Regions from separate parts of the Homo sapiens genome. Here all the other regions are linked to region 2. Evidence: promoter capture Hi-C in 16 types of primary human blood cells and fetal thymus (Javierre and others, 2016). All regions are on one chromosome and are shown on one strand. Each heading gives the region's core, a stretch centred on a gene start or on the middle of the fragment in contact. The rest is flanking DNA. Distances are from core to core; before and after follow the strand shown. Region 1 overlaps MAP3K19 (mitogen-activated protein kinase kinase kinase 19). Region 2 holds the start of R3HDM1 (R3H domain containing 1). Region 3 overlaps MAP3K19 (mitogen-activated protein kinase kinase kinase 19). Region 4 overlaps CCNT2 (cyclin T2).

Region 1 (6,265 bases), core at 1,916-4,415, 540 kb after region 2:
ATCTGGGTTGGATAACATCACTGCGAGCTGGGTAATGATGCCCCTTTAGTTGGGCATATGATCTCGATTTACTGCTGTGTCTTCCTGTCCCACATCATCCATTTCTGTGAACTGTTTTGACCCTGGAGACACTGGAGCTTTTGGCTTCAGCTTTAGAAAGTCCAAACTATGCAGAAGTGGTGGTGGTGGTGGTTCATGGGGTTTTGGGGATCATTCTGACTTTTTGGTAAGAAGAGAACAACTTGTAAGTTTTATACTACCTAGTAAGTCCCATCTCGTTCCCTAGGTGAGTCTTCCTCACACTCACCTTTCAGAGTTTATGGTCGATCTAGTTTAAACAACTGTTGGGAGACACTTATACAAGAATATTTTCACATTTCTGCACAGTTCAGGCTTTCTAAGCAAAAAACACTAGGAAACTAAGTTAAAAGATGACTGAATGTCAGAAACGCCTCCGAAGTTAGTGTATTGCTCCAGAGAAATTTAGAGGCTGATTTTCCCAAAAGCTGTTTGCTTATATTCTAGGGTAATAAAACATAGAGTCATCTTTCTCCTGGAGGCATTTGCTTACAATTCATAGTAAAGTGCTCTCTCCTTCTCTGGAGGGAAAGATGGGCTAAAGTGCCACCACCCAATATACCACCTGAGTCTCATCATTCCAGAGCTCCCTCCTGTGATGCAGCTCTGCCAGCTGTGCAGGTCAACACCCGGCTCTCATCACGTTGCCCTGTGAGGAACTGGGTTGTGGGGAACTGGCATTACAATGTTCTGTGAGTGATAAATGGTCTGCTCTCTGGTCCAGAGATCTCAGGTTTTCTGTCAGAATAGAGATATAAATATAAAACAGCAACCCCTGCTAGTGGCAGCAGCCTGAAGTTTTGTGTGATGATTCCACCTCTGTGTGAATTCCACAGGGGAAACCTCCAATTTCTACAACTTTTCCTCAGACCCCTTAGCATCTGTATTACTCCATCCCCAGACTCTGGCTTGAGACTGTTTTCTTTCTACTACTAAGAATATCCAGTTATTGTTTTTCTTGTTGTAGAGTTTTCGACCTCTCATATGAAGTACAGTGGCCGAAGCATCAAGGTAAGATTAGTGCTAGCATTTTTGACTTGAGAATTAAAACCAAACAACTCTATTCACTAATTTAGAACCAAATCCTCAGCAATTACACTTGACCCTTCAACAATGCAGGGGGTAGGGTCACTGATGTCCCCAACACAGTCAAAAATCCACACATAAGCTTTGATTCCCCCAAAACTTAGCTACTAATAGCCTACCGGTTGTTTTGTTTTGTTTTGTTTTGTTTTGTTTTGTTTTTTGAGACAGAGTCTCACTCTGTCACCCAGGCTAGAGTGCAGTGGTGCAATCTCGGCTCACTGCAAGCTCCGCCTCCCGGGTTCACGCCATTCTCCTGCCTCAGCCTCCCGAGTAGCTGGGACTACACGCACCCGCCACCACGCCCGGCTAATTTTTTGTATTTTTAGTAGAGACGGGGTTTCTCCATGTTAGCCAGGATGGTCTCGATCTCCTGACCTCGTGATCCGCCCGCCTCGGCCTCCCAAAGTGCTGGGTGTTCTGTTTTGTTTTGTTTAGAGACAGGGTCTCGCTATGTTGGCCACGTTGGTCTTGAACTCCTGGCCTCAAGCAATACTCCCCCTTAGCCTCCCAAAGTGCTAGGGTTACAGATGTTAGCCACCGCACATGGCTGCAGTAGCCTACTGTTGACCAGAGCCTTATAGATAACATAAACAGTTGATTAACACACACATTTTGTGTTATATGTATTATATGCTGTATTCTTACAATAAAGCCAAGAAAATAAAATGTTATTAAGAAAATCATAAGGGGCCAGGTGTGGTGGCTCACGCCTTAATCCCAGCACTTTGGGAGGCCAAGGCGGGTGGTTCACGAGGATAAGAGATCGAAACCATCCTGGCCAACATGGTGAAACTCCGTCTCTACTAAAATACAAAACATTAGCTGGGCATGGTGGCGGGTGCCTGTAGTCCCAGCTACTCGGGAGGCTGAGGCAGGAGAATTGCTTGAACCTGGAAGGTGGAGGTTGCAGTGACCCGACATCATGCCACCGGACTCCAGCCTGGCAACAGAGCAAGACTCCGTCTCAAAAATAAAACAAACAAACAAACAAAAAAAAAAAACAAAAAAAGAAAATCATAAGGAAGAGAAAATATATTTACTCTTCATTAAGTGGAAGTGGATCACCATAAAGGTCTTCATCCTCACTGTCTTCATGTTGAATAGGCTGAGGACGAGGAGGAACAGGAGGGCTTGGTCGTGCTGTCACAGAGGTAGCAGAGGAGGAAGAAAATCCACATATAGGTGGACTTGCGTAGTTTGAAGCCCTGTTGTTCAAGGGTCAACTGTATTTCTTGGAAAAACAACAACTCACATATAGTTCCTAGAGTAGCAAATCGTTCCTGGGAAAATTATGCCTTGCCATGTGCAGTGCTTTTCTGGAGTGTTTCTGTTCTTTACATAATGAGCTGAGTAGCTCCCTTAGACATTTTTTTTTTTTTGAGACAGAGTCTCACTCTGTTGCCCAGGCTGGAGTGCAGTTGGCACAATCTCGGCTCACTGCAACCACCACCTCCTGGGTTCAAGCGTTTCTCCTGCCTCAGCCTCCTGAGTAGCTGGGATTACAGGCACCTGCCACCACACCCAGCTAATTTTTGTATTTTTAGTAGAGATGGGGTTTCACCATGTTGGTCAGGTGGGTCTTGAACTCCTGACCTTGAGTGATCCGATTGCCTCGGCCTCCCAAAGTGCTGGGATTACAGGTGTGAGCCACCACACCTGGCCAGACATATTTTAATTTGTCTTTTTTCAACCTATTTAGAAATTAGGCAATTCTTTTCTTTCCCCCAGTGGTGGAAAGATTTTCCTAGCTGTCTAATTTATAAGTTTTTGGAAAGATATTTGCAATTCTTAGTTTCTCAACTACCTGACCCTTCTTTTCCTATGAGCCTTTGAGAAATACTTATGCATAGGTACTGCTTAGCATTGTAAAAGGAGTTTATTGACCTAAAAAATTGTAATGGCTGTTACTAGGCAGATGGTTAAGCACTGGATGAATCTGCCTTTATGTCCTAAGTCATTTTTGAGAAATGAGGAAAATCATCTAGACAGTAAAACTGGGGTCTACACTACATCTCATCTACTTTTAATGCCTAAGTTTCTAGAGTCAGGTTCCATTTCCTTCCTTCTTACACACAGGTGGCAATAGAATGAAAATTAAACATACATTTCTCAATTACTACCCATGACCCATGCCTATAAATATTGTGATATAAATAGGTATTGAATCTGTATACACAGGAAAAGACCACAATGAAAAGAAGCATAAAGTTAAGGAGTTTATAGCTTACTGCCCGCAAAGTTTAATATTATACATTGGGTTACACTGACCTCTACAGGATGATAATAAAAACTAGCTTAGTTTGAAACTAGAGGAGGGCAAAGGAGAAAGGAAAAACTAGCTTAGTTTGAAACTAGAGGGCAAAGGAGAAAGGAAAGCCATCCATTTGCCTGTCATCCACAAAAATGAAATTTTGTACATTTCATTCACAAACTAATTCAGCAAAACGATGGTGAGTAGTTGTGTTTCGGATATGAATTCTGAGTTAGTCAATAACTGGTAATTTTTGAGGTATTTTAACAGCAATTTTAAACTGTTTTCAGTGGGATTTCAAAAATCTTAAATCAATTCTATGGAAAGTAAAAAGAAAAAAGAAGAGAAATAAAATGCTTCTTATCTTAAATTTTTACCATTTACATTATAGGGCCTTCATTTAAAAATATATAACCATGAATATTTACATCTATAATAATCCTGGTTTTAAAACGTGTTGTTTTAAATTGGTTCTAAAAAAAATATTGGGAATGAGGTTTTAATTTTAAAAATTGTGATCTTTCCAGGCATAGTGGCTCATGCCTGTAATTCCAGCATTTTGGGAGGCAGAAGTGGGAGGATTGCTTGAGGCCAGGAGTTTGAGACCAGCCTGGGCAACATAGAGAGACCTTGTCTCTACTAAAATTTAAACATTAGCCGAGCATAGTGGCACATGCCTGCAGTCCCAGCTACTTGGGAGGCTGAGGTGGGAGGATCGCTTGAGCCCAGGAAGTCAAGGCTGCAATGAGCTGTGATTATGCCACTGCACCCCAGCCTGGGTGACAGAGCGAGATCTTGTCTCAAGAAGAAAAAAAAGAATTGTGATTTCCAGGATAGCTTTGAACTTTAAAAGCCTTCCTTAAGAGGATATTATAATCTCTTTAGACTACTTTAAACGAGTTAGCGTGATATTTATATATGTTTCTGCATTCACAGCTTTTTCTGTCTTCCTTTTAGTTCCTTCTGCCACCACTGTCACTCTTGCCCACGCGATCTGGTGTCCTTACTATCCCCCAAAATCACAAGTTTCCAAAAGAAAAAGAAAGAAACATTCCAAGTCTCACATCTTTTGTGCCTAAGCTCTCAGTGTCTGTTCGTCAATCTGATGAGCTCAGCCCATCAAACGAGCCTCCGGGAGCCCTAGTTAAGTCGTTGATGGATCCGACTCTCAGGTCTTCTGATGGCTTCATTTGGTCAAGAAACATGTGCTCTTTTCCTAAGACTAACCATCACAGGCAATGCCTGGAGAAGGAGGAAAACTGGAAATCCAAGGAAATAGAAGAATGTAACAAAATTGAAATCACTCACTTTGAAAAAGGGCAGTCTTTGGTGTCTTTTGAGAATTTGAAGGAAGGCAATATTCCTGCAGTTAGGGAAGAGGATATTGACTGCCATGGTAGTAAAACGCGAAAACCTGAAGAAGAGAACTCTCAATATCTTTCATCAAGAAAGAATGAGAGTTCAGTAGCCAAAAACTATGAACAAGATCCAGAAATAGTATGTACCATTCCAAGCAAGTTCCAAGAAACCCAGCATTCAGAAATAACTCCAAGCCAGGATGAAGAGATGAGAAATAATAAAGCTGCTTCAAAAAGAGTTTCATTACATAAAAATGAAGCAATGGAACCAAACAATATTTTAGAAGAGTGTACTGTACTTAAAAGCTTATCCAGTGTAGTCTTTGATGACCCCATTGATAAACTCCCAGAAGGTTGTAGCAGCATGGAGACAAACATAAAAATATCAATAGCAGAAAGAGCCAAACCAGAAATGAGTAGGATGGTGCCTCTTATCCACATCACCTTCCCTGTGGATGGAAGCCCCAAGGAACCAGTGATAGCCAAACCAAGCCTCCAAACAAGAAAGGGAACCATTCATAACAACCATAGTGTCAACATACCTGTACACCAAGAAAATGACAAGCATAAGATGAATTCCCATAGGAGTAAGTTGGATTCAAAGACCAAGACAAGTAAGAAGACACCTCAGAATTTTGTGATTTCTACTGAAGGTCCCATTAAGCCTACCATGCATAAAACCAGCATAAAAACACAAATTTTCCCGGCTTTGGGACTTGTGGACCCCAGGCCTTGGCAATTGCCCAGGTTTCAAAAGAAAATGCCACAGATAGCAAAGAAGCAATCAACTCACCGGACTCAGAAACCTAAAAAGCAATCATTTCCTTGCATCTGTAAAAATCCAGGAACACAGAAGTCATGTGTTCCTCTCTCTGTTCAACCGACAGAGCCAAGACTAAATTACCTAGATCTTAAGTATAGTGATATGTTCAAAGAAATCAATTCAACTGCTAATGGACCTGGAATCTATGAAATGTTTGGGACCCCTGTTTATTGTCATGTGCGAGAGACTGAAAGGGATGAAAACACGTATTACCGTGAGATATGTTCGGCTCCATCAGGCAGACGTATCACCAATAAATGTCGATCTTCACACAGTGAGAGGAAGAGCAATATCAGAACAAGACTTTCTCAGAAAAAAACACATATGAAATGCCCAAAGACTTCATTTGGCATTAAACAAGAGCACAAAGTCTTAATTTCTAAAGAAAAGAGTTCCAAGGCTGTACATAGCAACCTACATGACATTGAAAATGGTGATGGTATTTCAGAACCAGACTGGCAGATAAAGTCTTCAGGAAATGAGTTTCTATCTTCCAAAGATGAAATTCATCCCATGAACTTGGCTCAGACACCTGAGCAGTCCATGAAACAGAATGAATTCCCTCCTGTCTCAGATTTATCCATTGTTGAAGAAGTTTCTATGGAAGAGTCTACTGGTGATAGAGACATTTCTAACAATCAAATACTCACCACAAGCCTCAGAGATCTG
Region 2 (6,352 bases), core at 504-3,003:
TCCTGGGCTCAAGTGATCCTCTCACCTCACACTCCTGAGTAGCAGGGACTACAGGTGACTACTACATGACTGGCAATTTTCATTTTTTTAATAGATACCACAAATTTCCTCCAGGACCTGAATGTATCTATGTCAATTCTGTAACTAGGTGTACTAGTTATGGAATACAGAAGATCATTAAGCCACCATAGTCTTCTCAAACCCTGAAGAAATGATCAAAACTCAGATGTTTCCTCAGAACCCAAGTTTATTCTGCTAACAAGTAAACCTCAGAAATGGGCCTAGAATTTTATCTCTGATCACAGTTATGTCTACTACAGACTATAGAATCCATGATTTAAAGACATATTCTTCCAGGCATAAAAGCAGAGTGGTATTTGAAAAGACGAGCGTACTCCATCAAAATGTGATGAAGAAATCATAACAGAATGCCCTAAAAATAGCCAAATATGCCAAATTTTTAGAAATTGAGACGTGTCCAATTATTCCTGTCAGACTGGTATCCTATTACTTAGAAGATCTTGTTTCACATATTATAAATGGGTAGACTTTCAGTTTGACTTTAATCATCTTTTCATTTAAAAGTTTTTGTCATCAATGATATTTAAGCTAAAAAAGGTTTCTTACAGTTACAATTAGGTAAACTATAACCATGAAGATATATATATATATATTTAGAAAATTTTATTAGAAAAACCATTTGCTGTTCACTAATCCTAATTTGGAAAGCACCTCTTCTTCACCTTTTACTTAACTATCCCAGGACAATTACACACGGAGCATGATAGTCCCAATAATTTAAGTTTCTTTATAAAAACAAGCTCAACAGAGTCACCCTTTGCACCTAGTCACAGCAACAAAAGAAAACAAAACACCAAAAAACTTCAAAGCCCACAAAGATTTGTTGGCAGCCTAAGGCTCAGGAATCAAAACGTGTGTAAATCTGATCCCGGGGGACCGTGGCACTGACAGTCATTCAACTTTCTTTTTAATATTCCCATTGTGCTTTTTCTGGTACCACAGGGAAAATGTACCTACATTTTACCAACCGGTCGAAGCTGAAAATTCTCTTGGTGCAAGGCCAGGGGATGCGGCCGTGGGGCGGCCGGGGGAGCCCGGGGCACCGGCGCCAGCCACACGAGAGAGCAGTACCACGCTCTTGGCAGGCCTGCTGTGGCTGGCTCCCGAGTCCCTGGGGCTGCAAGAGCAGCCGCGGAGGCAGCAGCAGCAGCCATGGCAGGGACTCGGAAACCTTTCCCCTGCCTCCTCCGCTAGGCCTCGAGGGGTTTGCTTTTCACATGGCCCCCGGGTGGGGGCGGTGGGCACAAGGCAGTGGCTGCAGCTGCAGCCGGAGCCGCAGCCGCGGGCCAGGCGAGCCTGGCTCACTCGGAACCCGACCTAACGGCGGGCTGGCAGCAGCGGGACGTCAGAAGGCCCTGGCTGAAGCGCCGACGACCCGGCGGGGAAGGCCACCTTTCCACACACCACATCTCTCCCCTGCCTGCCTCCTTCTCCGTTAGCGCTACCGGTTGGCGGGCGGGGGAGGGGAGCAAGGCGCGTTATTCCCGGGGAGCTGGACGGGGGAGGGAAGGGCATCTCTTACCCGCGTTACTGAGGAGGAGGAGGCGGTTGGAGCGCGGCGCGGCGGGGCGACGGCGGGGCTGGGTGGGTGCAAGTAAGAGTCTTACGAAAGGGAATTAACCCCATCACCAGCCCGGACACCGGCTCCAGCGGCAGCCGCGGCTGGCAGAATCCCGCCCCTTCCCACCACGCACTAGCCCCGCCTCTTCGTTCTCTTTGAGCGGCAGCCGACTATTCATAGGTTGTACGTCCCCGGAGTGACATGAGTTTTGCCCAATCAAGCTTGAAAAAAACTGTCTTCTCTCCACCCCTTTACCTCCTCCCAGGCCGCGGAGAGCCGTGCCAAATCTTCCTCCAACCTCAAGAGAAAAAGAACCAATCCGTGGTAAGTAACCGCCCTTGAAGGACGCAAAAGCCAACCAATGGTAAAACTAGGAGGACAGCCATTTTGCCCACTTGTAAAAGAGCTACCTTTTCCCACGAGTTGGAGCCTGAGGTGCGGAGTTTCGTGAGTTTTTACTGACTCGAGGTATTTAAAAGACAACCAGATCTCCTCAGTGGGTATTTATAGTGCTTTTTAGGGGTAAAGGAAAATTATCCTCCATGTGGGGCGAAGTGAGGCATGCTGCTTAAGGGGTTGGCTCCTCCCCTTAGCGCTAACGGGTTCTGAAACGAACACCTGGTTTCTCCAGCTTCAGTGGCGGAGGGCGGGGTGATTGCTCTTTTCGGCCTGGAGCGGACTACGATTCCCAACATGCTTTTCCCCTACTCATAACTTCTCCTCCGTTCACTTGTCGCGGTGCTTGGCTGGAATTGTAGTTCCTGAGAGGTACCCATGCCGCCGCTTCAGCCAATGAAAAGGGACAGAGTTTTGAATGACTTGAAATTAGGGCGGAGAACGAGTTGTCGCGAGGCTGTACAGAGCCCTTTTCGCAACCCTAACGGGAGAGAAGTGATGGAAGAAGGGTAGCCGGAAGAGTTTCCTCAAAATACCATAGGGGTTTTAAATTATTAGTACGTATTTAAACTCATCTACTTTCACGTTGTCCCGTTGAACGTCACTTCCGCTTAGGGGCGGACACGTCCCAAACCTGTGGCGGGAGTTGGAGATTCTGCGGCGAATACGCCAGGTGTGACTGGCTGGAAGTGGCGTGGCTGGCAAGTCGCTAGTTTCTTGCATGGGAGATAAAAAGTTGAACGGAATTTAATGGCATTTTAAGAAAGAGTGGGTGACATGGGATGGGGGTAATTTCCAGGGCCCTTATTACTTTCTCCACCCCGGCCTTCAATCGCGGGCGTCTCGGCCTGCTCGCTATTAGATTGCACGGCTAAATTTGTAGAAAGTACCTCTACTGCCTTTAGTCTTCGCGTGGTCAGTTTGAACTGTAAAGACAGGGCTCCGAAGTTCTGAACTACATTTACAGACACACTTTTTTTTTTTTTTTTTGAGACGGAGTCTTGCTCTGTCCCCAGGCTGGAGTGCAGTGGTGGGATCTTGGCTCACTGATTCACGCCATTCTCCTGTCTCAGCCTCCGGAGTAGCTGGGATTACAGGCGCGCGCCACTCAGCCCAGCTAATTTTTTGTATTTTTAGTAGAGACGGGGTTTCACCATGTTGGCCAGGATGGTCTCGATCTCCTGACCTCGTGATCCGCCCACCTTGGCCTCCCAAAGTGCTGGGATTACAGGCGTGAGCCACCGCGCCCGGCCACAAACACACTTCTAAAGTCAGCTTGGAAGGAAAAGAGTCACAGAAAAGGGCTTTTCTGTTTGAAGGATTGATAATCAAGAGTGGCCCCATCACCACTCTTTGAGTAACGACCATTTATTAAACGAGTGGCAGACAGGCGCGGTGGCTCAGACCTGTAATCCTAGCACTTTGGGAGGCCGAGGCGGGAGGATTACTTGAGGTCAGGAGTTCGAGACCAGCCTGGGCAACATGGTGAAATCTTGTGTCTGCTAAAAACTCACACACACACATTAGCCGGACGTGGTGGCAGAGATCTGTAGGATCTGTAGTCCCAGCTACACGGGAGGCTGAGGCAGGAGAATCGCTTCAACTTCGGAAGTGGTTACAGTGACCCGAGATCGCGCCACTGCACTCCAGCCTCGGGTGACAGAGCGAGACTCCGTCTCAAAACAAAAACAAAAACAAAAAACGTGTGACTACAGGGTGCCAACTATAATACACCGATGAATAAAGGCATCACTAAAAAGATGCCTTTATTCATCGGCCACATGGAGCCCACAGCCTAATAATCTTAGCACGTAAGGCCCTGATTTATGCCTCCTTCAGAGTTCAAGGGCGACTGTATGTATACTTTTGGACATTCCATTTAAGGTACCCAGGAAAACTGATTGAATAAAGAAGATACAAGTTACAGAAAAGGGTTTTTCCCTCCCTATGCGTGTGCCCTTTATTCTTAAACTCTTTGCTTTATTATTTTGACTGAGACTTTCTCAGATAAATTCTAATTCAGTTTACTCCATGATTTTACTGAGATTTTCTCTTATAAATCCTGTTGTATTTATGGTATGAGCGCTTAACACTGTATTGGGTACTATACCAGACTTTGGGTAGAGCAGTGCCTAAAAAGACAGGCTCCTTGTCCAAAAGTTGTGAGGAAGAGAGAGGCTAAACAAAATTGTAATGTCACTTACTGTTTCAATCTCTAAGTCAAGTCTTCTTTAGTCACATTTTGTATGTTTATTTGGTCCCTTCTTTACATTCTACCTTTGGATTAAAATAAGCACGTTTTCCTCTTTGCATTGTTTTTACTAAAGCACTAATCTGTGTCCAATACTAACGAGTGATGTTTGTATACAAAGTAAGATGGTAAATTTTATAGTGTAATCCTGCTAGATATAGGAATGTAACCATACCTTGCAGCAAGACATTTTTGTAGATCTACCAGGCAAAGTGTTGTCTCTTGCTTTTTAATGCAATTAGGATATTCAGTGATAATTTAGCAATGCAGTCTACTGTAGATGCTTAGTTTTTTTTTTTATTTGTTTGTGTCAGGAGTTCTTCCAGTGTAAATCTAGTCACTAAATAGTAATGATGGCCATCATTTTATTGAGTTTCGTCTGAGCCAGAAATGATGTTATGTGTGATAAGTACATTTTCCTTATGACAAACTGTAAGTCTTCTTGACATTTTTATATTTGAAGAAAGTGAGGCTCAATGAAGGTAAATAAGACTTGTAGAGGTCTGACCTGGTGGCTCATACCTGTAATCCCAGCACTTTAAGATGTCAAGGCAAGAGAATCACTTGAGTCTAGCAGTTCTAGACCAGCCTGGGCAACATAGGAAATTTCAGTCTCTACAAAAAATAAAAAAATTAGCTGGGCGTAGTGGTGCACAACTGTGGTCCAGCTACACAGGAGGCTGAGGTGAGGGAATCGCTGGGGCCCAGGAGGTCAAAGCTGCAATGAGCTGTGATTGAGCCACTGCACTCCAGCCTGGGGCAACACAGGAGACTCTGTCTCAAACAAACCACAAAAAAAAAAAAAAGAGCTTTAAGGTCTGAGGCCCCTATTAAATAAATTTGAGTTGAGATTCATATCCAGGCCTGTCTAATTCCTGAACTCTTAACCACTATTCATCTTGCCTTTCAAATTTTTATTAATCCTTCAACGTGTGCCAGACACATAATGATGAGGGAAACAAAATTCCATCCCAGGATTCTGGAGCCAATGGTGGCAGTCACTTCCTCTTGTAAGCCATCTTTTGCCATGTACGTAATACTTAGTCCACACGGGAAAATGTAAAAAAGAAAGTAAAGGTCATCTGCAATTCTATTACCAAGAGATGCCACTGTTTACACATATCTCTGTCTTTAGTTACAGGTATGGACACATGTTTTAATGATATAATGCTTTGCTTTTTTTAAATTGAAAAAACTTGCAACAGTGGGCTATGGTTGTGGCTGAATAGATACCAGTATTATCATTTGTGATAGCTACTTTATTGTATAGCTCTAGCATAACCAATTCCCTGCTGATGGATATTTGCATTGTTTTCAATTAATAATTTATTTTTTATTGTGTTAAAAACGCATAACACAATATATCATCTTAACCATCTTTTTTTTTCTTTTTTTATTTTGCGACAGAGTCTTGCTCTGTCTTCCAGGCTGGAGTACAGTGGCTCACTGCAACCTCTGCCAACTGGGTTCAAGTGATTCTCCTGTCTCAGCCTCCTGAGTAGCTGGGATTATAGGCATGCACCATCATGCCTGGCTAACTTTTGTATTTTTAATAGAGATGGGGTTTCACCATGTTGCCCAGGCTGGTCTCGAACTCCTGACCTCGAGTGATCCACCCACCTCACCTCCCAAAGTGCTGGGATTACAGGTGTGAGCCACCGTGCCTGGTCATCTTAACCATTTTTAAATGTATAGTGTGACCCTGAGTCTTCTCTGAGGCCCCATGTGTGGGTGCCAGATGATTGTCGACAAAAAGAGTCAAACTGTAAAATATGAGGAGATTTATGCTGAGCCAAATATGAGTGACCATGGCCCATGACACAGCCCTCGGGAGGTCCTGAGAACATGTGCCCAAGGTGGTTGGGGTACAGCTTGGTTTTATGTATTTTAGGAAGGCATGAGACATCAATCAAATACATTTAAGAAATGCATTGGTTTGGTTTAGAAAGGCGGGACAACTCAAAGTGGGGACTTCCAGGCTATAGGTAAATTTAAACATTTTCTGGTTGACAATTGGTTGAGGTTGTTTGAAGACCTGGGATTGACAGAAAGGAATGCTCAGG
Region 3 (6,155 bases), core at 1,167-3,666, 520 kb after region 2:
TCGTGTAAGCTACTTAACTTTTCTGGGCCTCAGGTACAAAATGAAGATAATAGATCCTAACTTTAGAGTTGTGAGGATTAAATTAGTTAACCCATTTATGCTTAGTGTTCCATTATTGGAACGGTGAGCTTGTGGGGGTTATTTATATCCCACTGCTCAAGGTCATTGCCAAGGTCTGATTTTTCACACAAAAAAATTTGCAACCTCCGAGATAAATGGGTTAATATGTGTAACGCATATAGAACAGTGTCTGGTACTATATATGTAAATGCTAGTCATCATTATGGATTTTGTAGGTGGGTATGACCACACTGCCGGCTTCCAACTTTTCCTACAGGACCAACTGACAAATGAACTGAGTAGCTGAGATTGACCACAGCCCAGTAATCAACATGGAAACTTGATGTGAGAACCTGCTGTATGACTAACACTTCCAAATGAAGGCTGCTGTTTTCTCAAAGCTCAGCATAAAAATTTCACTGAATCACTGTAATTAAATGAAATGGTAGAAATGTGTTTTGAGGTCTCTTAGAGTGTTCTAGACTAAGGATCTACACAAAAACTATATATAATACTAAAAAAGAAAAATTCAAATGACCCATAAGCATCTAAAACTATCTCCAACTTTTCTATTAATCAAAGTATGAACATTCAAACAATAATAAGAAGACCAATTCCATCTATTACATTAAATATAATAAAATGAAAAGTCGGCCAGACGTGGTGGCAGGTGCCTGTAATCCCAGCTCTTTGGGAGGCAGAGGGAGGTGGATTACTTGAGATCAGGAGATCGAGACCAGCCTGGTAAACATATTGAAACGCCATCTCTACTAAAAATACAAAAAAAAAAAAAAAAAATTAGCCAGGCATGGTGGTGGGCACCTGTAACCCCAGCTACTTGGGAGGCTAAGGCAGGAGAATCGCTTGAACCTGGAAGGTGGAGTTTGCAGTGAGCCGAGATTGCACCACAGCACTCCAGCCTGGGCAACAGAGCAAGACTCTGTCTCAAAAAATAAAAAATAAAATGAAAAGGGGCAGGGCATGGTGGTACATACTTATAGTTCCAGCTACTCAGGAGGCTGAGGTGGGAGGATCACCTGAGCCCAGGAGTTCAAGGCTGCAGTGAGCCATGATAGTGCCACTGCATTCCAGCCTGTGTGCCAGAGTGAGACACTGCCTCAAAATAATAACAATAATCATATAAACACCTGTGAAAAGAAGGGAAAACAATAATAATTAATTAATTAATTAAATGAAAAGGAATGATGATAAGGGAGAAGATATGATATAGCACATTCATGCACTGCTGGTGGATTATAAATAGGGATAAACTTTACTTTTAAGGCAATGTGTGTACAAAAAAACAACTTTTTCATAGTATTTGGGTCAATAATTCCATATCTAGGGATCTACTCTAAAGAAATAATGCAAAATTGGGGTATTAGTTGCAAATATTTAATAATACTATGTGTAAGAGTGAAGAATTTTAAATTACCTACTAAGCATCATGGGAGTTACATTGTAAGACTAACGGGGCTTATTAAAGAAGTACTATTGGCTGAGCGTGGTGGCTCACGCCTGTAATCCCAGCACTTTGGGAGGCCGAGGCAGGCAGATCACGAGGTCAGAAGTTTGAGACCAGCCTGGCCAGCATGGTGAAACCTCGTCTCTACTAAAAATACAAAAATAAGGCGGGCATGGTGGCGGGTGCCTGTAGTCTCAGCTACTCGAGAGGTTGAGACAGGAGAATCTCTTGAACCCGGGAGGTGGAGGTTGCAGTGAGCTGAGGTCGCACCACTGCACTCCAGCCTGGGCGACAGAGCAAGACTCCATCTCAAAAAAAAAAAAGAAGTACTGTTATGACCCTCTGATATTTGTTGAAGGAAAGAAATTTTAAATTCCATTAAAATTAAAATGACACTTACTTAGTAAATTGCTTATGAATTTACACTTAAGTGAAAAAGCCAGATACAAAAATTATGTGATGCAACTATATTTTTAAATACTTAAGAGAAACACAAAGAAAATATGATTCCTGTGTTAACAGTGTTTGCTCTTTGGTTGTCAGGTTATAGGTGATTTTTTAAATTTTGCTTTAAAAAATACTTTTTTGTATTTTTGTATGTTCTAGGAAGAATAAATCCCCCTTTGTGATTTGATAGGAAGGAGGAGGAATTTGCCAGATAATGGTAGAATTTTTGAAATACAGAGAAGGTTAAGCAGTGAAATTGACAACAGCCTAGGAGCTGAGTGAACCCATCCGCCATTGACAACCAGGATAGTCTGAGGTAGGGCACCCAACTTTTGCCAGGAGATAGAAAACGCTTTAGAAAGTATTAATAAGGGTAGTGGGGAGTAGGGAGGAAGGGGGATGGTTAATGGGTACAAAAAAAAATAGCTAGAAAGAATGAATAATCAACCCAATGAGAGAACAAAAAGAAAAAAAAAGGAAAAGAAAGAGTAAGAACTAGTACTGATAGCACAACAGGGTGACTATAGTAATAATTTAATTGTACGTTTAAAAATAACTAAAAGTATAATTGAATCATTTGTAACACAAAGGATAAATGCTTGATGTGATGAATACTCCATTTACCCTGATGTCATTATTATGCATTGCATGCCTATATCAAAATATCTCCTGTATCCCATAAATATATATACCTATGTACCCATAAAAATTAAAAAACAATGTTTAAGTATAAACTGCTGAATAAAAGTAAGGTATGACAACTAAGTTATTATGATTGAATACCTAAAATATTTTTAATGACTGTATAAATGGAGGGTTTTACTTCTGGTTTTTTTTTTTGAGACAGGGTCTCACTCAGTTGCCCAGGCTGGAGTGCAGTGGTGCAATCATGGCTCACTGCAGCCTCAACCTCCTATGGCTCAAATGATCCTCGCACCTCAGCCTCCTGAGTAGTTGGGACTACAGGCACGTGCCACCATGCCTGGCTAATTTTTGTATTTTTTGTAGAGATGGGGCTTCACCATGTTGTCCAGGCTGGCCTCAAGCAATCCACCCATCTCGGCCTCCCAAAGTGCTAGGATTATAGGTGTGACTCACCATGCCTGGCCAGGTTTTACTTTTATTTCCTTTTTCTTTTCTTCTTCTTTTCTTTTTTCTCTCTCTCTCTTTCTCTCTCTCTTTTCTTTTCTTTCTTTTGACAGGGTCTCACTCTGTCACCCAGGCTGGAGTGCAGTGGCGTGACCCTAGCTCACCATAGCCTTGACCTCCCGGGTTCAAGCCATCCTCCTGCCTCAGCCTGCCAAGTAGCTGGGACAACAGGGGTGTGCCATCACGTCCAGCTAATTTTTGTATTTTCAGTAGAGACAGGGTTTTGCCATGTTGCCCAGGCTGGTCTCGAACTCCTGAGCTCAAGTGATCCACCCGCCTCAGCCTCCCAAAGTGCTGGGATTACAGGAGTGAACCACCATGCCTGGCCAACTTTTATTATTTGCTACGACAATTAAAATGAACAAGGAGAGAAAAGCAAGAAATTTCCTAGCTCTCTTGGGAATTAATAAATGAGCTATCAGAGAATTTTTGTGACTCGCCACTTCTCTGACATTTCAGATGACAGGCTTGAGCACTTAGGGCAAAGACTTATTGTCCATCAGTCCCCTTAAATAGGTAGTCCACCTAGATCATAGAAACCAGACAGATAGTTGTAACATTCGGGTTGTGATGGGATGTTTTAACTATTACTTGGATCTATCATGGTTCTAGAAATTTAAAGGCACAAAATCATCAGCTATAACTTCGAATGAAGGAAACTATCAAAAACAATGAATTCTACTAAGAAAACATTTCTTCTTTAAAATGTTTGGAGTACTTTTTGTAAATCAAGTTGGTTTTCAACTATAATGATTATTTTCTAGAGAGTGAAAAGGAAGTTTAAGAGGTTATGCACCATGATTTAGATCAGAACGCCGTCATAGGGAAGACTTTAATCAGCTTTGCTGCCTCCTTTCAGTCTAGGGTTATATCTGTAGCTTCCACAGGGGCAGGGATTTCCATTCTTGCCATATGTAAATGATGCCCCAGGGAGGCATTATGGAAAAGATCATGCTCCTTTGGGGTTGTTCACTGTGACTGTGGCCAAAGGATTCTTTCCAGTTACCTACCCAGATGGAATTTGGGGCAGCTTAGCAGCCTGGGCACTGAGATGATAAAGTATAAAATACTGAGTTTCTATGTGTCGATGTGATTTCAGCTTTGCTCCTCATTTTTGATTATGCAATTAATCACAACCATGACTGTCTGAGCCTAGTGCTCCAAGGGCAGATACTTTCTTATTATTTTAGTCCTAAATACTTTATCCAATTTAAAAGGAATCCATGGTGTAAATCTTTAGCCCAGAAAAATCAACATTCACTCTGCCAACAAACTGGTACATCGAATAACTAATAACTGAGTTTTGAATTTTATGATATTGCAGGAGTTCGACCAAGATGGTGACTGCAGTCATTCCACACTGGTTAATGAAGAAGAAGATCCCAGTGGTGGTAGACAGGACTGGCAACCCAGGACAGAAGGTACTGGGCTTTACTCCTTGATGTGTTTACAAAGATAACATTATCATATGGGCTTCTCTCCAATTTCAGAAGGGCTTATTGTAGAAGTTTGAACAACATACACTGGAGCCTATCAGAGGGTAGAGGGAGTGGAGGAGGGAGAGGATCAGGAAAAATAATTAATGGGTACTAGGCTTAATACCTGGGTGATAAAATAATTTGTACAACAAACCCCATGATACATGTTTACCTATGGAACAAACCTGCACTTGTACCCCTGAGCTTAACTCTTGCAATAAAAGTTAAAAAAATTATAATAAATAAGTTTGAAAACACAGAAAAAGCCCAAAGGAGAAGAAAAACCACTCACAATACTACCTTTTGGTCCATATCTGAATCAGTGGGTCTAGGCAGCTTGACTGGCCAGAATAGGCAAATGCTCTCTGGCTCTTTTATTCCACCTCACTCCAGCTCAGCCGACCCATTCCCTGTCCATTTCTTTTTGTCTGATAACATCCTTTCCCCAATTTCTTCCTCTCAGAATCTTCCAGCGGCTTCAGTGATCGGTTCCCTTCCGGAACCACACGTGTCTCCATGAGCCGTTGTCCCTGAGGGGAAGGTGGGGGAGTGTACGAGACCTGAAAGTCCCCAAGTCTCGGTCTTTTATTTACAAGGCCATAAGTCTGGAATCTTCCAGAACACCACCCATTTCAAACATGTTATCCTGTCACACCGTAAGTGCCCTTGCACTTAACAGACCACAAGGTATTTGCAGATTCTCGCCTCAGAGCATAGTTGCCACGGCTATCCCATTTGTCTGTCATCTATTCATCCATAACCTTCTTAAAGTAAATGTTTATTTGAACTGCTGCAATTTCTCCCGGGCAATCTTCTGGCTTCTATTTCTAGCACTCCAGGGAAGCCGCCCTCTTTGATGCCCGTGTTTCTCATCCCTTCGCACCTCTCAGAAGGCTGCAGCTCTCCCGAGTAGCGTCTCCTCCGGGAGGTGGTGCGATGCTGCCCTCTCCTGGGCAGCCGCCTGCCTTTCTCACGCCCACTGGGAATCTTCCCTCCCCAGGCTGAGGGCCGAGAGTAATTTAGTAACCATTAAAATTATGAAAACCATTAAGCCTGAAAGAGCTAACAGAAAGAAAATAAACCCCGAAACCCTTCAGAACGGTCCTTGCAGTCCTCCTTCGACTTTCATAGACTTCAAAGCCAAGCTCTTAGAAGCCTAATGGTGTCCCAAGCACCTTCCAGGAGGTTAAATATTTCATTTATTCTGCTCCATATGGAGATAACTCACCATTTGGGATGTTAGTCATTCTTTTAAACTTGATTTGCAATATTTTCAGTTTTCATATGGGAGCCATAATACTTATGAGGCATCTCCACTAAGTTATTTCAGTTTTAAGCTTTTAACAACTTGAGTTACACATTTGGAAGAAGCAATTCTCTTCCTGATAAAATTGCATCTCACAGTTGATAGAGACTTCAGTTGAGCTAGCTACTCTTTCTAATCAGAAATTCTGAAATAAAAGTGTTTTAGATATTATTGTCCATTATATTCATTTTAAATATCGGTTTAAATCTCTTTAAATGGACCGGGCACTGTGGCTCACGCCTGTAATCCC
Region 4 (5,845 bases), core at 1,629-4,128, 570 kb after region 2:
ATTATTATTATTTGAGATGGAGTCTCACTCTGTTGCCCAGGCTGGAGTGCAGTGGCGTGATCTTGGCTCACCGCAACCTCTGCCACCTGGGTTCAAGCAATTTTCCTGTCTCAGCCTGCCAAGTAGCTGAGATTACTGGGACCTGCCACTGTGCCTGGCTAATTTGTGTAGTTTTAGTAGAGATGGGGTTTCACCATCTTGGCCAGGCTGGTCTTGAACTCCTGACCTCATGATCCACCCGCCTTGGCCTCCCAAAGTGTTGGGATTACAGGCGTGAGCCATCGCGCCCAGCCAGCACCTATTGCTCTAAGCTATAGCCACAGATATTTTTATTGGCTGCCGTCATTTCAAGCTGGTACAACTAAAAATTAACTTTAGGAGTATTCTAATACTGGTATCAGGATTTGTCAAAACAAAGCTGGTTTAGTTTTTATGAAATAAATGTGAAATGCTGTCCAGGTGAGGTAAAAACAGATTTTACTCTGGACATGTAACATTAGATGAGTCTTTGTGGGTATAACTTTTCTCAAATTTTTTTTTCATATTTAAGAAATTAAGGGAAGAATATGTCCTTTATTTTACTTACTTGTATCTCAACATGACCAGAAACAACATAATTTTGAAAGGTTAGGGCTTATTCCTTTTCCATTTTGGAGGGATCTTCAGCATTCTTTCAAATCTGAATATTATATTGGATTTTAAAGCAACTATTTACAATCAAGCCTGTTAAACCCTATGGGGAAAGGGCAAAGAGTAAGACCTGTTAATACTGTGTATAGAGATCACCGTAATGGACACAAGAAGTTGGTGTTAACAAGTTTATTCCTATTCTACTGAAATATAAGGGTACTGAAGACAATTTTGGAATATTGAACAGAAACTTCAAAAAGCTGAAGTTTTGGCCAGGCAGGGTGGCTCACCCCTGTAATCCCAGCACTTTGGGAGGCCGAGGCAGGTGGATCACTTGAGGTCAGGAGTTGGGAGACCAGCCTGGCCAACATGCTGAAACCCCATCTCTACTAAAAATACAAAAAATTAGCTGGGCATGGTGGCGTGTGCCTGTAATCCCAATTACTTGGGAGGCTGAGGCAGGAGAATCGCTTGAACCTGGAAGGAAGAGGTTGCAGTGAGCCGAGATCACACTACTGCACTCCAGCCTGGGCAACAAAAGCGAAACTCCATCTCAAAAAAAAAAAAAAAAAAAAAGCTGAAGTTTTCAATAGGCAAGCCTTGGTCCTCAAAGCTTCTGTGTTTTTGTTATTCACTGTGTTTAAGACATGAACAATTGTTTGGAATTACACTCTTCATTATCACTGCCCATATGTGTGCTCTCTTCCTTTTGAAGAGGGTCTGAAAGGAGGTTGGGAGTGGAGGTAGGTTGGGGCTGGGATGGCTAGCATTCACTGAGCTTTTAGCAGAAAAAGGCACATCATTTCATTCTAGCTGCTGATTGGGATGGTAGTATCGTCCTCCCTTTATTATTTTGAGTACTTTAATGGTGTGAAAAGCTTTTCATTGTTCACCTAGCAGTAATACCGTCCTCCCTTCCATGAGCATCACCCTTTTCCCAAGGCACAACCGCTGAGTTTTCAATCACATTGAAAACTCATCTTATTATGTACTAAATTCCTGTATGCTCTGGGCCCAAGCTCAACCAAAGACATTTTAACCCCCAAGTTCTAAAAAGTAGATCTACAGCATCTCCTTAACTTTAACCTACTTTAGTCGTACACTGTGTAATGAGTAGCTCCAAGATAATAACCCACTTAATCTGCTCAAGGAGCAGCCAAAAGCTGCATACCATCACCTACCAGGCCGTCTTTCTTCTTCATACGAGCTGCACTTACAAGTATTAATTCAGTTTAAAGCAGCTATTTAAATGCAGAAACTTGCATTTTAAAAATCTTTCCAGGTGATTCTGCCAATTAAAAAATCTCTGGTGTAAGCAGCCTCTCTCTCTACTGGTAATAAAGTTTAAAAAAAAGTTTGTATATGCCATTACACTGTCAAGTTTATAGAGGATAGTGCTTTCTCCTATTGACAGGACATCACGACATTATGAAAATCCATGGCTGAATTCATCCATAAAGCAGTCACTAACAGGCTGACGTGAAAGACTATAGAAAACTGGCCTCCTCAACTGTGTCTGAACATTTGAAAGGTCTAAGTAAGCCTCTTAATTTCATGGCAATATAATAAAAATATTTTGTCAGTGAGGCCCTACATTGTTTTGGGAGGTGGTATTGAGGGGAAGGAATAGGCAGGCCATATGCTACAGCTAAAATAAAAACATACAATTTATTATATTGAAAAGTGCAGGGGGCAGGGGTGAAGGAATAAACAATGGACTTAGATGAGTTTGGTTAGATGGAATTACTCACTTTGTAAAGTTAAAACCCATCCAATTTATTATGTTAATAGAACAAGCCCTTACTGGTGTCAGCACCAGTGAGACAAATCTCTTAACTGTGATACAAAAAATATTTATGTTACATTTAGGCTGAAAATGTTTTATTTTTAATTAAAAAAAAATTTTTTTTTTTTTGAGATGGAGTCTTGCTCTGTCGCCTAGGCTGGAGTGCAGTGGCGCTATCTCGGCTCACTGCAACCTCTGCCTCCCAGGCTCAAGCGATTCTCTCCTGCCTCAGCCTCCTGAGTAGCTGGGACTACAGGCGCGCACCACAACGCCCAGCTAATTTTTTTGTATTTTTTAGTAGAGACAGGGTTTCGCCATGTTGGTCAGGCTGTTCTCGAACTCCTCACCTCAGGTGACCCGCCCACCTTGGCCTCAAACTCCCAAAGTGCTGGGATTACAGGCATAAGCCACCGTACCCGGCCTGAAAATCTATTTTAAAAGAAGCGACTTTTCTATCCTAATTCTACTTTATCAAAGTTATTGCAATTAGCTTTCATTTTCTTTCAAGTGGAAGGTGCAGGGAAATTGCTGGTAAGGAGAGGGAAGCTGGCGAGCAGCCTTATTAAAGAACAGCTTATGCTTAAATATTTTTGAAGGGGCCGGGCATGGTGGCTCACACCTGTAATCCTAGCACTTTTGCAGGCCAAGGTGGGCGGATTGCTTGAGCCTAGGAGTTTGAAACCACCCTGGGCAACGTATCAAAACCCCGTTCTACCAAACACAAGAACAACAACAAAACAAAACAAAACAAAACAAACAAAAAAACCACAAAAAAACCCCCCAAAATTAGCCGGGCATGGTGGCACATGCCTGTAGTCCCAGCTACTCAGGAGGCTGAGGTTGGATGATCGCTTGAGCCTGGGAGGCGGAGGCTATAGTAAGCCAAAAATCACACCACTGTACTGTACTCTAGCTTGGCTGACAGTGAGAACTTGTCTCAAAAAATAAAAAATTTTAAATGGGTACTGCAACTATTCTTTGTGCTTTTTATGGGAGTGATGCAAGAGGTTAGACAAGAAAATCTTAAAACAGAAATTAGAATGAACAACTTAAGAGAATTCTGGACACAGCGGGCATGCAGTATTTAATATGTTCCAGTTACACACCTGGATTGGCCTTCATCATTCCAATATCCCACATCTACCCCTCAATTAGGATTCTCTTTAATGCTATTCTATCTAGCCTTCCTTGACCATCCAAGCCTTACACAACTCTATGATGAACAGGTACTACTACTAACACTTTGTAGGGAAGAAAAAGCATGAGATCAAGTAATTCACCCAATGCCATTCTGTTATTAAATGGTAGGGCTGAGACTAGAGCATGGACCATTTGATCCCAGAGCCTGCACTCCTGAATGATACATGAAATTACTTGGATAAAGGGTCAATTATACTAGAGATCTCACATTTTCCAGGGACTGAAAGTTACTTCTGTTTTTGTTGTTGTTAAGGAATCTTGCTCTGTCGCCCAGGCTGGAGTGCAGTGGTGCGATCTCGGGCTCTCTGCAACCTCTGCCTCCTGGGTTCAAGCGATTCTCTTGCCTCAGCCTCCCGAGTAGCTGGGATTACAGGCATGCACCACCACACCCGGCTAATTTTTGTATTTTTAGTAGAGACAGGGTTTCACCATGTTGACCAGGGTTGTGTTGAACTCCTGACCTCAGGTTATCCGCCTGCCTTGGCCTCCCAAAGTGCTGGGATTACAGGCATGAGCCACTGCGCCCCACCTCAAAGTTACTTCTGATTCACATTAACTTAAGACATGTTAGAGCCTTGGATTTATGTTGTCAATAAACATTTTATTAGTTCCTTGTATGGATAAGAAGCTTAAAGTCAATGACTAATTCATGCCATATACACATATTCCTGTTTTAGATTTTCTATTAGCAAACATCCTGTTCAATTGTTGTTGGGAGTTTTGAGTACATTCAGAAAATGAAACCCCACAATCACTGTTTACAACAAATGAGTATGTATTTTTCCTAATAAAATGAAGCTGCTTGAAAAAAACATACCTTAAAATTAAGAATGTACTCATCACTTAATAAGAATGTACTCATTATTAAACAATAGGCAAATCAAACAAACTACTAAAGTGGCAATGCTCGGGATTTTGAGTTTCCGCCCCAAACTTGAAAATAAAGTAGACAGCCCTCAAACTTTGAGATAAATGGATTCCACAGTGAAGTTAAGTTGCCTATACGAGAACAGAATTACTCCTAGCCATTCAATCTTCGATGGATCTTATCAACCTACTTAATCAATCTGTCAGGCAGAATAGGTAACAGTAAATTATAAAGAAGGTGCCACAGAGGTAAAAACTGGCTGTGCCCAAATTGACACTGCAGAGCAGAAAATTAATGTATGATATTAGGTCTAAAACATTTTGAGCTTTTCAGTCCCACTGGCAAAATGTATTACAAAAATAGATGCTCCAGGGAAACTAACAAAAGCAACCTTTTGATTTCGGCTTCCATGTATGTCAGCTTACAGCAATTAGGTTGCTCACTGATTTCTGATATTAACGTATCAGAATGTGATTCTCAAATTAGTATCATAGCTTGGTACCCAAGGTCAGAGAATGTGCTGCTTTTCCAATGCAAAAATCCCTATCTAAATAAGTCCATCTTAGGGCACATGAGATTAGCACCTATTGTCCTGTCAACTCATTTAGTTTAAGTGTGAGATTTGTTGATCCCTCATCTGGGTAAAGGTAGTCAGTGAATCCTACTGTCTCCCTTCAAGACAGCCTCTGAGGCAGTAATCAGGTTAGAAATACTGAATCCATGATTCTTCCTAACAAGAGCCTCCAAATATTCTCAGCAAAGACATCCTAAATTTAAGCAGATATGCTTTTCATTTGGATAAAATTGGAAATGGTGTAATACCTTGAGAGAATGGTTTTCCTAAGACGTTACCATGTTAAAAAAGTCCCCATGTCTATAGAAAATGCAAAACCCTGAAATATCTAATCAACTAACTGTACTCATGAAATGCATAATATTCATGCAGATATAAGCAGTGGTTTATTTCTAAGGTTGCTTAACGAATACAAGTCAGCAATTTAAGTTCTCAAATAGAAAAGAAAATGTGCTTGAAACCTTTTAAGGCAATGGTATTTTGTACTAACAAAAACATTTCATATTGGTTCTCTGAAATAGCCCTCAAGTAGTCATTTCTAGTTCAAAGAGGATAGGCCAAAAAAATTAGGTATTCTATTAATTATTAATACAATCTGTTGCTACAAAGCAATATACGCAGCCACTCATGACATTCAAGAAACCATACATCATGTTAGAAATTTCTTTTAGATGACTCTGAATAAGAACTTTAACCAGAAGGAATCTGAACACACGGAGGAAGACCAAGGTGCACATTTAACTGCTTTCAAAGATAAACCTAGGGCTGACAACAGGACTTTTTTGGT

The links. The method cuts DNA at HindIII sites, captures the fragments that hold promoters and counts their contacts. A CHiCAGO score of 5 or more calls a contact.
Region 1: a fragment that was not itself captured here is called in contact with the fragment with the promoter of R3HDM1 in region 2 in 2 of 17 cell types (endothelial precursors and megakaryocytes); the score reaches 6.1 in endothelial precursors.
Region 3: a fragment that was not itself captured here is called in contact with the fragment with the promoter of R3HDM1 in region 2 in 15 of 17 cell types (megakaryocytes, naive CD4 T cells, fetal thymus and 12 more); the score reaches 17.9 in megakaryocytes.
Region 4: a fragment that was not itself captured here is called in contact with the fragment with the promoter of R3HDM1 in region 2 in 3 of 17 cell types (erythroblasts, activated CD4 T cells and non-activated CD4 T cells); the score reaches 7.4 in erythroblasts.

What each region holds. Positions count from the first base shown.
Region 1 is chr2:134,986,361-134,992,625 of GRCh38, reverse strand. MAP3K19 (mitogen-activated protein kinase kinase kinase 19) reads left to right here. Exons shown (of 13, transcript NM_025052.5): 9 at 1,046-1,089; 10 at 4,373-6,265. Among named protein-coding and RNA genes, the nearest start is that of MAP3K19, 58 kb to the left of the region's middle. The HindIII fragment of the contact is 3,833 bases long and covers 1,249-5,081 here.
Region 2 is chr2:135,526,885-135,533,236 of GRCh38, reverse strand. It overlaps R3HDM1 (R3H domain containing 1), which reads right to left and starts at 1,753. Exons shown (of 27, transcript NM_001378107.1): 1 at 1,604-1,753. It overlaps ZRANB3 (zinc finger RANBP2-type containing 3), which reads left to right and starts at 2,019. Exons shown (of 21, transcript NM_032143.4): 1 at 2,019-2,110. RefSeq lists a silencer at 1,587-1,776 and enhancers at 1,744-2,038, 2,007-2,276, 2,627-2,706. The HindIII fragment of the contact is 3,394 bases long and covers 1-1,865 here.
Region 3 is chr2:135,003,822-135,009,976 of GRCh38, reverse strand. It overlaps MAP3K19 (mitogen-activated protein kinase kinase kinase 19), which reads left to right. Exons shown (of 13, transcript NM_025052.5): 6 at 4,446-4,542. Among named protein-coding and RNA genes, the nearest start is that of MAP3K19, 41 kb to the left of the region's middle. The HindIII fragment of the contact is 7,045 bases long and covers 1-5,938 here.
Region 4 is chr2:134,957,694-134,963,538 of GRCh38, reverse strand. CCNT2 (cyclin T2) reads right to left here. Exons shown (of 9, transcript NM_058241.3): 9 at 4,197-5,845. Among named protein-coding and RNA genes, the nearest start is that of CCNT2, 42 kb to the right of the region's middle. The HindIII fragment of the contact is 2,736 bases long and covers 1,511-4,246 here.